Linked DNA regions of Homo sapiens: region 2 is linked to region 1. Evidence: promoter capture Hi-C in 16 types of primary human blood cells and fetal thymus (Javierre and others, 2016). All regions are on one chromosome and are shown on one strand. The core of a region is centred on a gene start or on the middle of the fragment in contact, and the rest is flanking DNA. Distances in the headings are between cores, read along the strand shown. Region 1 holds the start of SFR1 (SWI5 dependent homologous recombination repair protein 1). Region 2 overlaps NEURL1 (neuralized E3 ubiquitin protein ligase 1).

Evidence for each region. Contacts are between HindIII fragments. The CHiCAGO score rates a contact against its expected background, and 5 or more counts as called.
Region 2: a fragment that was not itself captured here is called in contact with the fragment with the promoter of SFR1 in region 1 in 5 of 17 cell types (total B cells, naive CD4 T cells, naive CD8 T cells and 2 more); the score reaches 6.7 in total B cells.

Annotation. Positions count from the first base shown.
Region 1 is chr10:104,120,485-104,124,018 of GRCh38, reverse strand. It overlaps SFR1 (SWI5 dependent homologous recombination repair protein 1), which reads right to left and starts at 1,848. Exons shown (of 4, transcript NM_001002759.2): 1 at 1,823-1,848; 2 at 933-1,054; 3 at 1-305. The coding sequence starts at 1,835. RefSeq lists a silencer at 1,853-2,082 and enhancers at 2,323-2,372, 1,767-2,430, 3,003-3,102, 2,586-3,534. The HindIII fragment of the contact is 3,915 bases long and covers 5-3,534 here.
Region 2 is chr10:103,574,858-103,578,330 of GRCh38, reverse strand. All of the region lies in intron 3 of NEURL1 (neuralized E3 ubiquitin protein ligase 1), which reads right to left. Among named protein-coding and RNA genes, the nearest start is that of NEURL1-AS1, 59 kb to the right of the region's middle. The HindIII fragment of the contact is 799 bases long and covers 1,050-1,848 here.

The sequences.
Region 1 (3,534 bases), core at 599-3,098:
AGCTTCTCACTCACAAACTCATTTTGGAGAGCACTGCATGATCCAGAATCAAGTGACTGAGATTCACAGACATTGAGATTCTTCAAAGTATTTTTCAAATTTGTATTTTCTTCAAATTCACTGTCTATATGTTTAAAACTTTCTTGAAATTCCAAACAGTTTTCCTCTGTGGAAGATGCTGGTTTCTCTGAAAAGGTCTGATCATTTTCTTCACTCTCTACTTTAAGACGTTTCACCACATTGTAAGAGGAATTAAATGAAAATCTTGTTTTCCTTAATCTTTCTCTAAGTGTTGCACTCATAGGCTATAAAGAGCACAAAACATTAAAAATGTGAATCAAGAAAAACATTCTTAATGTCAATAAATCACCAGAAATAAAGTCCTTCCATTTCTATGCTAGACACCACTAGATGGCTTTCTGTCTCCACATCTAAAGAAGGCATCACAAAATGACTTTAATTTCTGGAAGCTCCATTTGTTTTATTTCCTTTTTACTTCAGCAAGATCAACACCTTTCCAAAAGTGTTGAGAAGTTTATCCCAGTAATCAAGGAACATTTGTTCAGTAACAAGCACATGCCTGATAGTACTCCAGGTGCTTCAGAATTACAGAGTAAGGAAAAGACCTAGACTCTGCCACTAAAGACCTTCATAATAATATTGCACAGATGCAAACTTTCTCCATCTGGAGTATTGTAATAACCTAATCTGAAACTAACTGAAATGAATTCATTCAAGAGGAAAATATGGAAGGGGGCTGGTGGGTGTCATATATGTCACCTTAGAAGAAAAACAAAATTATTTAATAAAATGTCTACTTATTTATGCTACACATTATGTTAATTAACAACCTTCCGTAGAATTTAAACCACCACTGCCACAATACTTAGAAACACATAATGGATCCACTGGAAGAACAAAGATTTTCATACTTGTTTTCGGGAACTATTTGTATAGGGAGATGATGGATTCGCAGAGGCCTGAGGAGTGCTAGGTAAAACCACAGCTGAGTCTGACGGACTTTCCATCTTGAAAGTGAAATCTTGGTTTTTCTCTAAAAAAGAAAAATTATAAAATAATCGAATTAACCACACCTCTCTATAGTCGACTTTTATCAAATAATATATTGTATTGGTGTACAAAGCATCCACAAGTAAGCCAGATATTTCTTCTAATTTCACTTTGTAATTCATTCTTGCTCTTTTTGCAGTTTTCCATTTACCTTCCCACATAGGGACCACTAAGTTTTTCATGATACATCAACCAGCTAGTATCTCATAGTCACAAGACTCTCCTTGTTTTCGTTTCATCCACCAAAATATATTCAAATTCTGCCTTGGAAGTAGGGAAGAATAACAGCTTTAGATAATCAGGAATTCTTTATTATGACAGCTTCATAATTCAAGAAGCTATAGCCGAAACCTTGACTCAAAAACAATAGGACCTGAATGTCACCCATCCTGAACTCTACAAGCTGTGACTAGAACCCGTTACCCTGCCGGCCCGAGGCATAAGAAACACAGCGGAGACGCATTTAAGCCCGTCTGTAGCCTTTTAGTTTAAGCGGCCAACAGGGACTGAAAAGGAGAGTGGACTGAAATTGCTTCCTCCGACAAAGGCATTAACTTTTGAGGGGTAAACTAGGGGCGGGAGTCGTCCCCTCCTTCCCCCCGTTGCAGAAAGCCCACTAGTTCCCCGGAGACCCCAGGCATAAGGTGAGGTTGAGTTCCCCAGACCCGGAAAGGGAGCTCAACTCGACTCCACAGCCGACTCCCGGGGAAGCCCAGGTGTCAGGGATCCCCCCTTCCCCTCAGCAGGGTACCTCCCTCCGCCATTCCCAGCGAGAGCAAAAAAGCGCGCGCACCTGCGGCCGTAAATCGATCCTGTGGCAGGGGCGGGGCCGTGCGGTAGGCGGAAAAGATGCGCAATTGGCCAGATTGCCTGACGCGCGAGGCGCCGCTTCACTCAGCGACTCAGAGCGGTGGGACTGCGCGCGCGCCTCCGCCAGCGGGTGGTTGGGGCGGGGCTTGGCCCACACGATGGGAGGCCCAGACGCATGATTGGCAGAATTAACCGGTGCGCGCGGCTCTCCCCGCCCAGCGCCCGAGAGCAGCGTGAGTGCGCGCGCGCGCGGCCGCGATCCGCAGCAGGTCTTCGGGGCGGGCGAGGCTGAGCTTCGGAATGTTAAACCAATCCTGAGGGGGGCGCGCTTCCGTTCGCGGCTTCTGTTGCCTTATTTTCAACCGCCTTCCCTTCAGGCTTCCTTGTTTTTGTGCGTCTGTGAAGTGCGCCTGAAAGTGCCTCTCCCCACCCCCGCCAGCCCGCCGCCTCCATTCTCTGGCTCCAGTCAGTCTCCTCTCCCTGCTAGTCACAGTGAAGGCTTTACTCAGACGTGGGGCGGCCAGAAGCCGCACGGCTGGCTGCATGTTAGATTTACAGCTTGTGGACTCCCCAGAGGCAGAGACCACAAAAGAACAGCGTTGGTTGGGTTCCAGCCTATTCCAGCGTGGTGGTTCCAGAGACCACAAAAGAACAGCGTTGGGTTCCAGCGTTGGGGTCCACATTTCAAACATGTTAGAAATCTATCCGAGAGTCCCGGCACTTTAGCTGAGCTCATCGCTAGCTTTTTTGGCTGCCGCAAACTCGGCGGTCCCGTCGCGAGGTTTTTTGTTGTTGTTGTAAACAAAAAACCGTTTCTGTACCTCAGTATGCAGGCTCCTTAGCGTGACCTCAAATCTTTTACTCAAATCTGAGGGAAAATGTAGCCCAAGGAAATTTGTTGTGGCGCAACACAGGAAGCAGAACAATCACTACATGAGATTGTGTCGGTCCAAAATTCACGTTTGAGACCGACAGGGCCCTTGCTGGCTACCGGGCAGCAGCATCCTCAGTCGAGAAAATCCCCCCCCCGCGCCCCGCTTCCAGTATGGCGAGGTTCTGTTGCTACGCGACGACAAAGTTAGCTACATTGGGTGGAGCACTGGGTTTAGTGAAAGAGTTGAGTAACTTCTGAGTCACGTGGAAGTTGGGAATTTCCAGGGGCCAGTGTTTTCAGTCCTCTTATTGAATGGCCATTTTAAACATTGATATCGTCTCTTTACTATTAATAACATCTGACAGTAGTGGCTTAGAAGTGGCCAAAAGGGAGTTACCTGAGTCTTAAGCAGTCAGGTATAATAATTACAGAACCTGAGGACTACCTAAGGGAATGATTAGGGGCGTACACGTTACAGTCAAATTGTCTAGGTTCAAATCCTGGCACCATACTTTATGTGCTTCTTAATGAGGTGATTCTGTGCCTCAGTTTCTTCACCTCTTAATATGGGATTGGAGAATTAAATGAGAACTGGTGAGAGGCAGCTGGAACAGAGCTAGGTATCTAGGAAGCACTCAGTAGTTATTTTATATATGCAAGTGTATTCACCATTCCCTAATGGATTTAAGGGAATGTATCACCTTCAGTTTCACCCCTTGATTTATCTCCCACCCCCCAAAAAAGCACATATATTTTAAAAAGATGCTGTGATCTGTAAG
Region 2 (3,473 bases), core at 200-2,699, 550 kb after region 1:
AGAGCTGGTTTGAGGGGTTGGCTTTTTTGGCCGTGGAGGGCGGTGTCTTTAAATTAGGTATTCCTTTTTAACCTAAAGACAAAAGCCCTTCTCATTTGTGTAAATGCCTTTCCACATCTGTGAGGTAAGTGGGGTGTGTATAATTATGCCCAAATAATGAGGAGGCTGAAGCACAGAGAAGCTGAGAACTGCCCAGAGCTAATGAGTGGCCAAGTCAAGCCTTGATTCAGTGGGTCTCCTGCATCTTAAATGAAGGCATTGTCCCCAATACTGCAAGGCCCGAGCTCCTCCCTCCACATACACCCCACCCTGAGCCCCACCACTCTCTCCAAGGCCCCAGTACAATCTCTTGGGCCCAAGAGATGCTAGGGGCAAACATGAGATTGCCTTTCTTGTAAGTTAAAAACAGTCCAATACTGGTGATTACATATGGTTCAACTTGATATATATTCATTGTGGTAGAAAACTAGAGTGCACAGGAATAACTGAACCAGACAAAGCCCTCGGGAGCCTCCGGGGAACTATAAGGCAGGCAGACCGACCTTCCCCACTGAATCTGGCATCCTGGGCGCTGCACTGCCCCTCTTCCTTGTACCAGCACTGCTGGGGCCCTGGTGGCCTATCTGTGCCCAACATGTGCAGTTGATCCTTGATGCCTTGAGCTCTTGTAAGCTCGACTCTGGAAGGCACAGGAGGGCCACTGTCCCCGCTCTTGTCGGGTATCCAGACCTAATAGGGAGATCAGATGGACTCACATCTAGAGAAGCTGGAAGGTAATGTAGCCCAAGCTCCTGGGTTCAAATCCCAGCTCCACCAACTGCCAGCTGTGTGACCTTGGGCAGGTTATCAGACCTCTCTCAGCCTCTGTTCCTTATCTACAAAATGGGCACAATAATACCTTCCTTTATATACAAAGAGGATATATGCTGGATCTTTAAAGAGCAGGACAATACATGACTCAAAGCTGCTTATACCACTTAGGTCTCCAAGTGCTTCCGATGGTCAGGAGGAGGAAGGGTCATTTTGAATGAGGGAGGTCTGGGAAAGCTTCCTAATGGAGGGGAGGGTTTGGTGTGGGGCACTGATATAGCTGGCAGAATTTGGGGTAAGCAGAAAGGAAGCACCAGAAAACCCTCTGAAGCAGAAGGAAAAGCAAGATTTTTTTCTTAATCAAAAAGAAATGAAAATCATCAAAGAGGAAGAAATCATGATCGGCAGCCTCAGCTGTTTCCCCCAGCCCAACAGCTGGCTCAGGCTCCTTAAACTAATATTTGCCTCTTGGCCCCTAGCAGCCACAGCTGAGGGTAAATATTGGTTTAGCCTGGGAAGCAGAAGGCCCAGATGGCAGTGTGGTCCTCGGCTGGGGATCACTCATGCTCAGCACCTCCAAGCTGAGGCACACCCTGGATAGGGGACCTGACCTAGGCCCCTATCTCCAGGGGGCCTGGAGAACCCACCCAGCAGCACATGACCCTTGGAAGCCCATCCTGAGAGTCTCCATACAGCTCTCTCCTCAGTAGGCAGGCGTGGGTCTTTTACCAAGACCTGGGAACCTGTGCATGGCAAGGGATGGAATAGAATGCATAAGCCCTCGGGAGCCCCCACCTCATCCCCTCCTAGAACCCTCCCGGACCCAGCCCCACCATTTAGATGTGTTGATAGCCTCCTCCCTCTGACCTTACTCCCAGATCAGCCTGAGAGATCTGGGTTCCAGGCCTGGCCTGGCTGATGAGCAGCTGGGAGAGTTTGGGCAGGCCTCTCCCCATCTCTGGGTCTCATACTTCTCCACTGTCAACCAGCCAGTCCCTCTTACTGAACAACTTGACAGCACAAAAGCTGCTGGAAGCTTTCAGCTCTCATGGCTCTCTCCCCTGTGATGCATACACATACCCACACCTGTGCACACCCCTCACCTCCACAAGTCACCCACTACCTTTCTACCTCATTCCTTCCCCTCCTGGATCTGCTCCCCTACTGACCGCCAATTCCCCACCTCTGCACCTGTGGACACCCCCCTGTCTGACCTAAATTGTTCCTCAACCAATCCATTCTTTTCACCTCACTTAGTTCCTGACTTAAAACTTGTCTCCTACAGGAAGTCCTCCTGGATTGCTCTCTAGCTGCACTCCCCTCCCACACATACACACAGTTTTACTCTTCAGGTCACACTTGATTGCAGAATTGAACTTGGGCCACCTTGCATCAGTTATATGATGTGTCCCCCAGGGAAAACATTATTCCAGGAGAGGGGCTGGGTTTTTGATTCTTCTGTCTCCCACCTGCCCCCGCTTAGTGCCTAGGCAGTGGTAGGCACCAAGGGATGCTCTGGAGCACCCTGTAAGTGGGCTCTTGGCCCGCCAGCCAAGTCCTGCTGGGACTCACAGCTGCTCTTCCTGAATTGACATTTCTGAGAGGAGCAAGGAGACCTTGAGATACTGGGATAGGAGCTTCTTTTTCCATGTATTAATCACCCCATAAAACCTGTGTTTATTTAGTTGCTGGCGGGTCCTTCTCCCTGGAGGAAGGAAGCTGTTATTCTTGACGATACCAGCCTGGGCTTGGGCCAGGGCGCCCCAAAGAAAGAGGTGATCTGCAGAACTCCAGCATAACAGGGAGGAGGGCCTGCTGGGGCTGTGGCATGGGCACCATAACAGGGAGGAGGGCCTGCTGGGGCCATGGCATGGGCACCATTGTGGGCTTGGATTCTGGCCAGGGCAGGGAGGACCGTCCACTGGGGAGAGACACCAGCCCCTGCCTCCACTCTGTCTGGGGACACAACCCATCCATGGCCTGACCTGCTTACCTACTATGTGCCAGCTACCCTGGGAAGCCTCTGGTCTAAGGAACAAACACAGAGCAGGTAAGATTGGGAGGGCTTTGACCACAGGCTTCAGACAAAGGGGGCAGGGGCAGGCCTGGCAGAAAATCCCCAAAGATCAGACATTGGTTTGGGGGACAGTCACCCCAGGAAAGACTGGCCCAGCCTCAGAGCCACCAAGATGGACAGCGACTTTCTTCAGAAGAGAGACAGCAGCGGGGAGAAGGACACCAAGACCAGGGAAAGCAAGAAGGGTGAGAGGATCTAGGTCAAGGGAGAGAGAAAAGCCCAGAAAGATACAGGTGCAGTAAAGGTGCAGGTGATGGAGAGAGGGAGGGGCGGGAAGTGGGGCGGAGAGGAAAGAGAAGGCAGGGAAGGAAGCTGATCCTGAGGCTACCTGGGGTAGAGGGGAGTATCTCAGAGGACAGGCAGTGAACGAAGGTGGAGAGATCACGCCCACCTCAGGAGATCTCTGGATGAATCTCTGTGTCTCCCTCTCTCTCTTTACCAAAAAAAAAAAAAATTCAGGAAGAATAAATGAAGGGATATCTCAATCTGCCAATTGAATTTAGGGGCCATAATCAGTGTTTGAAAATACCCAGGGATTATGGTGATTTACGGCTGGGACGGAATCCGCTGGGGCCTTAGCCTTATC